Regions from separate parts of the Homo sapiens genome. Here region 2 is linked to region 1. Evidence: promoter capture Hi-C in 16 types of primary human blood cells and fetal thymus (Javierre and others, 2016). All regions are on one chromosome and are shown on one strand. The core of a region is centred on a gene start or on the middle of the fragment in contact, and the rest is flanking DNA. Distances in the headings are between cores, read along the strand shown. Region 1 holds the start of TMEM266 (transmembrane protein 266). Region 2 overlaps TMEM266 (transmembrane protein 266).

Region 1 (3,424 bases), core at 80-2,579:
CAGAAATCAAACCTATCTGCAGAGCCAAAAGCCATTCTGAAACTCCGTGTCCTAGAAACAAGGGTTTCCCATCTTTTCAAATATTTTAAGATAAAAATCGCAACACCCTATAGGAAAATGGCTATATTTTTAGCAAGAATTGGTGGAGAAGACAAACGATAATAAGCTACTATGAATCCAGAAGCTGCTTAAATGGCCGTATTCACAGCAGCCCTTGCAAACATTAATTAGAGTAGTACCCATTATGGGTGAGGACTTTTTTTTTAACCACAGAGAATATCTGTGGGTGCATCCAGATTGCTCAGTGGTTCCGTTTAACCCACCCGGTAACTGGCAATCATGGCCCTAGGACAGGCTTCTCCACCGGGGCGATGCTGCCTCCAAGGGGCGCAATGTTACTTTTTATGCATCAAGCACGGATAACACATACAGCACATAAGCAGGTCGACAGTGTATCTGCGGTACTGGGATTTCACGGGGAAAGGAGATGGGGACGTGTAAAAAGCCTTTTTAAGAGTCAGATAACGAAAAACGGAAAAAGAGGAGAAACACGGTCCTACAAGGGTCCTGAGCTGAGGCCATCAAATGAATGTACTGACAGGTATTTTTCTCCCAGGCAGCCAACTGAGAGTCAAGGCACTCTGACCGTGCTATGACTCCGGCCACACAGAAAGAGGTGTTTTCCCCTCGGTGGCCTCCAAGCGCAGCGGGCACTGCGTGCCATCCGCTCCCTCACCGGGCGCCCCGCGCGGATGAAACGGAGCAACTGGGAAAGAGCTCTGGAAACTGCAAAGCGCTGCGCCAAAGCGACGGGAGGTTCCCATTCTCAGCTGTACGAAATCCCGCGGGGGTCCTCCGCTTCCCCGAGCGACGCCCTCGGCCTCCGCACTTGTTGCTTCTGCGCCCCGCCTGCGTCCCCGTCAAACCCACCCTTCGCGGCCCCCTCGCCTCTCCACACGCTCGCACTCAGGCCCCGACCCTGCCCCGCGACCCCCTCACCCACGCCACGAAGCCCGCTCTGCGTGGCAGCCCCGGAGACAGCCGAGCCCCCGCCTCCGCCCCCTGCCCAGCTCAGGCCGCCAGCCCCTGCCAGCCGACGCCGCGGTTTCCTAGACAGCCGCGCCGCCGTTCCGCAGCCTCGGGGGCGCGCGCGCGCGGCCGGCGGGAGGCGAGGGCGCAGGCGCGGGCTCGGCCAAGCCGCCGGCGCGAGGCCTCGCGCGCGCCCCCGAGCGCGGTGGGCGGAGGGGCGGAGGGAGCGGCGGGGCCGCGAGGGGGCGGGGGGGCGGAGAGGGGAGCCCCGGGAGCGCGAGCCGCGGCCGGCGCCGCTGCAGAGCCGAGCGAATCCCGAGCCCGGGCAGCAGGTATGTGTCCTCGCAGCCGGCCGCGGCCAGAGCTTCCCCTGCCTCACTGCCCGAGTCTTGTGGTCGGGGCGGGGGGTGGGGGGACCGGTCAAGGTTTGCAGGATGCGTGCTCGGAAGGGCTGGGATCTTGCCGCTGACCTTCATCCCCCTGGCCGGGGGAGCCAGGCGAGGGTGCGTGGGGCAGCCCAGGGCTTCAGCTCCAGCCTGGAGACCTGCTTCTTGTCACATGCTTCTTATTTATTTTTGCAAACTGCCCTGGTTCGGGTCCAGCTGCAGATGCCTTACCTCCCATTCTTTGCCTCCGTGTGCCATCTTGCATTTATTAATAAAACATGCAAGCTGGAGGGGGGGGTTGCTGCTGGGGGGAATCCCATTGCAGTATGGCAAGCGGGCGCCTATTTTCGGTTTTCAGACGTGGTATAGAGGTGGAAATCCCACACCCTGAGGATTTGTGGCTTGGTTGGTCGTGACCACTTCCTAGTGGGCTTCCCCCGTTTGTCGGGAGGTGCCCCAGCGGCAGAATGGGCTGTCTGGAAGGGATGGTGGGTCTTCACCGTCAGGCCAGAATCCCCTTCAGGGGACAGGTGCAAGCTAGGGCAGGCAGTTCCCTGCTTGCTAACTTGCCAGGGAGGCTTAAACCTAGAAAATTGTCTCCCTTGATGGCCGAGAAAAGATGGCCTTCAACAGAATCCCTGGGACTTGCATACTCAAACTCATTACGGTTTTGCATCTGAACATGACTAAAGCTAGCCACCTGTTGGAAGTCAGACCCCATGAAACACCCCCGTAATCTAGCTCACCCATCCCTGTTTCACAGTCACCAATACTGAGCTAGCAATAGGCCCATATGGGTTCCCTCTATCCTCTTTAATGCTGCTTGGCTTTTCTTTTAAAATAAGACCTACCTATGATTTGATGCCCTATATGTGAGAGGTTGAAATTATATGATTTGTTTATATTCCATACACCTATCACATCATATCCTAAAGACTGAATTTCTCTTCAGTGCATGTGTTTATTTCCCTGGCTTTTCACCTTGCTTTGAACAACAGTGGGAAAATGGGATGTATATAACTGCTTACCTCCTCCCCCAAATACCTCCACCCTAAAATATTGTGATGAAAAGAATAGTAAGAGCTAGAAGCAAAAAATGAAAATGGTTATCACAAGATGTTGGGATATGATAGCTGAACCGTAATTGCTTCTAAAATGGTCAGAGTGTCACATCTAATCACGAGAAGGACATGTTTCTTAAATGTTCATATGTACCAGGTACTGAGCTAAAACTATTTGTGTATGAGCTCATTTAGTCCTCACAGCAAACCTGCTATGTCCATGTTGAAGATGAACAAGCCAGGACTTAGAAAGGTTAACTAACTTGCCCAAGGTCACACAGTCAGGGACAGGGTAAGGATGCAAACTCAAGCACATGGGGATACTGGAGGTGGGGAGCCCTGAGGGGGCTTTTCCTCCAGGTGCGGCTGCTCCGTGTACCTTTTCATTAAAATCAAGCTTATGCATGAGCATGTTGGCTTGGGTCTAATTTTCCATTTCATAGATTCTGCACCAACTTTGTGGCTTTCCAGTAAGAAAAGCAGTTGTTTCAGAATGGATCAGTATGGAATTTTTTGAGGTGGCACTAAACCTATAAAAAGTGGGGTCCAAGATGTGCTTCCATTTAATTCTCACACACAAGGAGTTGAGTTTAAAAAGTTGTTTCCCTCCAGATTTAAACCCATAAAACGTATATGCATTAAGTAGAATGAATCACTCCCATTTTCCATTATCGCATCCCACCCTACCCTCCTTGCTGCCCTTCACACTATCTTCTGGTCTCACTGCCAGTCATCAGAGCAACATTGTCTATCACACTTGCCTGTGAGTGCCTTAATGGGAGGAAGGAATCCATCCGTACCAGCCGTGGCTCGTAATCCAGTCTCTCTATGATTGTAGCAATTATGCATTCAAAGTTCTTGGAATCTCTGCATTCAGCTATGGATGTGTATTTAATCATTTTTTTAAAGTGCATTATTATAATGCAGGTATTGGATTTTGTTAAACAT
Region 2 (3,502 bases), core at 196-2,695, 94 kb after region 1:
ATCCACTGACCTGGAGGCAGATCCCACCCCCAGTCTCCATGGCTCCCTGCTCCAAGGCAGCCAGGCCTCACCAGCCACTGTATCCCCTGGGTACCATCTTTTCCTTGACAGTGGTCTTCTGTCCTTCCACTTCCGTCGAGTCACCCCCATGTGCCTTGCCCTGGGGTTACCAAGAGGAGGGGGTGCACAGAGCAAGATGCAAGTGGTACCCCCAACAAGGAGACCTGCACGAACTCACTCCCAGACTGGCACAGTGGAGGGGTGGGTCGCTGAGGGCAGAGTGTGGGCAGGGGACAACTGAGCTGGCGTGAGAATGAAAGGACAGGCCCAGAGCAGCGTGGCACAGGCCTGATTGTGCAGCTGCCTCGGGTTTCTTGGGTGCTGTGTGTTGGCTGTGCCAAGGGCTGTGGCTGCACCAGCAGCATCTGCCCTAGCTGGTGGTGGGTGGTGAGCTATACCCCCTGCTGAAGGGGGAAGCCCTATCCTCCTCCCGGTCCAGCTCCTGGCTCCCATCACCCTGGTGTTTCTCATACTGGAGGTACTTCGGGGCTGAATAGAATTTTACCAGAAACAGTCCCTATTTAGTGTACATTTCAACCATGCCTGGATCGCTGTCCCCTCACCCCCATCAGCTTTCTCACATGTCGCTTTCTCACTGAGGCCTGCTCTGACCACCATATTTAAAATGTCAACTCATCCTTTACCCGTCCTAATCCCTCCACCAGCTCTGCGTGTCTTCCTTGTAGTACCCATCACACCAGCACCTGTTGTATTGATTGCCTGACCCTCTCTCCCACTAGAGTGTAACCTGCCCAAGAGCAGGGATTTTCGCCTCTCTTGATCACGCTGCCTACCTTAGCTGATGGTGGGGGCGGCGTTCATTTGACTTCAAGGCCGTCATCCCCTGCCTGGCATTCGAATCCTGCCATCTGCCCAGTCCTCTACCTGGCTCTTCCCTGAGGCTGAGGAGTGTGCTCTGGTGTCAGGGCCAGGCCAACTATGGGCTGACTTCAGACCACAGGTAACTCCAGACGCCCACCTCCTGCAGCTTCCTAACCACCTGATATGGTTAGTAAGTTTCTCTAACAAAAAAAAAAAGAAGAAAAAAACGACATTTTAAACAGCAATATAAATTGGCTTTTCCTCCCTTGGAGGCAGGTCAAGGTCTGAGTCTCCTGTTGATAGGGAACTGAATATATGGAACTAGTGCTCCTGAATACAATGCTTCGTTTCATTCCCTACTCCCTTCAGGACCCTCCTCTGGGGTAGAAGGAGCAGTGTCTTAGGGATGTCCAAGGCACGAAGGTGAACAAATGCCCGGCACCTTCCGTGGAACGTGAAGACGAGGCTTCCTGCTGGCCAGCCCAGGCAGATGGCCCTGGCAGCTGCCCTTTTTATTCATAACCGCCTGAAGGTGCTTGGCTCAGATTTCAAATGACAATGACATGCCATCAGTTTTAGGGGCCGCAGACAACGGTAATGGGCATTGGGGAGAATGTGGAATTGGAGCCAGGTGTCCTTGGGCCCTAGAAAAGACCATGCTAGAGCTGTGGGGGAGGAGTGAGCAGGCAGAGGGCAGGAGGGGAACCGGCTTCCGGGGGCGCTGAGGCGGCTGGAGGCTGGGTGTGAACTTGGGGTGAGAGGTGTGAAGGATGAAAATGGGGCTGGCAAAAGGGGAGGCAGGAATGTCACATCGTGGGAAAAGAAGCAGGGGGAGTAGGTGAGGCCGGAAGGAAGAATCAGGAGGTGAGGAGGGTGGCCAAGTGATGATAGCCAAAGATATCTTAAAATGCAAAGGCTCGTTAATGGATGGAAGCGCTGTGCCGCTGGCACTGCTGCGGGCAGCAGCTTTAGGCTTCTGGGAGCCTCCAGCCCAGCAGGGCCAAAGCTGTCATCTGAGCACCTGGCTTCCCTGGCCAGGTCCCTCCCTCCTGCCCCTTCGGGACAGATGGCCTTCCCATGCGCTTTTCCCCAGCTCATCCTGGCTTTCTGCCTGCATCCCAGGGTTCCCATGCATTCTCTGATCAAATCACAGCCGCCCTCACCAGGCCCTCTCCGGACCCCTTGGCTCTTGAGTTTAGGGCTGCCAACTTTACCAAATAAGAATACACGATTCCCAGTTAAATTTGGATTTCAGATAAGCAACAGATCATTTTTTAGTATGAGTCTGTTGTATGCAATGTTTAGGGTATACTAGAAAATTGCTCATTGTTTATGTGAAGTTGGGATGTAACTGGACATACTGCGCTTGATCTGGCAACCCTCCTGAGCTCCTCCCAGTTTCAGTCTGGGGTTTCCTCTGTAGCCCCTTGCTTGGTGATTGGCCCCTGTGTGCCGGCATGAAAGCAGAAAGATGTGGTTCTGCAATGGACTTCGAAATCCACCTGGAGTGGGCGATGGGGATGTTCATTGATGGCCTTCACCATCTGGCCCCCACAGACCATTCTCCTCCTGTTTTCTGCTTGTCCCTTAATGGAAAACCCTCTCTTTTGACCTGGCTGATTTCCTCATCTCTTGCCCCATACTCTTGGACCATGCGGGGTTCACATCGACCATCCCCAGCCCCATCCAACAAGGCCTCTTCCTCTTCCTCCTTTGCCTGTTGATGTCCTCCTACCTGTCTTTCTGGGAGCAGCTCCCTGAGTTTGGGGACTGGACACCAGTCTTTGCATTCCCCACAGAGTTGAGGACGGGGGCCTATCATTCCCAGAGGAGTTAGAAAATATTCAGAATGATGTGAATAAGCCCAGTGTCCTGCCAGGTTTCTTGAAGAGCTGTGAGCTTTGTCTGTCCTTCCAATGGCGGGGGACTCCTTCAGGCTTTCCCTGGATGGACTGTGAGGAAGAAGTCTCCTTGAAGCATTCACATTATTCCTTCCGAGAGAAGGGGGCGCCTCAGGGCACAGCCCCCTTCCCAACCCCATGTTCGGACCATCAGATATTTTATCATCATCGTCGTCATCATCACCAATCCATTTCAGCTGCATTGTCTTTACAGGGCAGATTAGTTCCCTCATTTAACTTTAGTGACCTGTGAGTTCAGGAGCATTATCCCTGTTTATACATGGGGAGGCAGAGGCGGAGGCCACAGTGGTGAGGAGCCTTCACTCGGGGCCCCAGGGTGGCTGAAGGCAGAGCCAGAAGTGTGGCCTCCTGGGCTGGTGCTGTGGCTGCCACTTCAGGATGCCTAGCTCTTCCTCAGCAAGGGAGGCAGGCAGGTCCTGTTCATACCTAAACTACCAAGCAGGTGAGGTTTGACCTCAGCTCCCCCATCTCTGTATTCCCCAGGCCCCTCAGAGGGGCCTTTCTTGTGCTCCTGAGAGGAGGGTGTCTAGTGCCCTGCAGAGCCCACCCAGCTCAGATTCTGTGACCCCTCCCACCTCCAGACCTGCTCAGGAAAGCTGCTGTCCTCGGAGGCCTGACCTCTGCTGTGATGTCCAGGGTCATATAGTCAAGGGTTTCCCTGAGAGTCCGTGGAACTCTAGTCTTGCCAGATTCTCACT

The links. The method cuts DNA at HindIII sites, captures the fragments that hold promoters and counts their contacts. A CHiCAGO score of 5 or more calls a contact.
Region 2: a contact is called between a fragment that was not itself captured here and the fragment with the promoter of TMEM266 in region 1, in 2 of 17 cell types (M0 macrophages and M1 macrophages). The highest score is 7.2, in M0 macrophages.

What each region holds. Positions count from the first base shown.
Region 1 is chr15:76,058,656-76,062,079 of GRCh38, forward strand. It overlaps TMEM266 (transmembrane protein 266), which reads left to right and starts at 1,330. Exons shown (of 11, transcript NM_152335.5): 1 at 1,330-1,361. It also overlaps a transcript of NRG4 not described here. RefSeq lists a silencer at 323-372. The HindIII fragment of the contact is 3,394 bases long and covers 1-2,871 here.
Region 2 is chr15:76,152,048-76,155,549 of GRCh38, forward strand. All of the region lies in intron 3 of TMEM266 (transmembrane protein 266), which reads left to right. Among named protein-coding and RNA genes, the nearest start is that of TMEM266, 94 kb to the left of the region's middle. RefSeq lists an enhancer at 1-248. The HindIII fragment of the contact is 6,508 bases long and covers 1-3,502 here.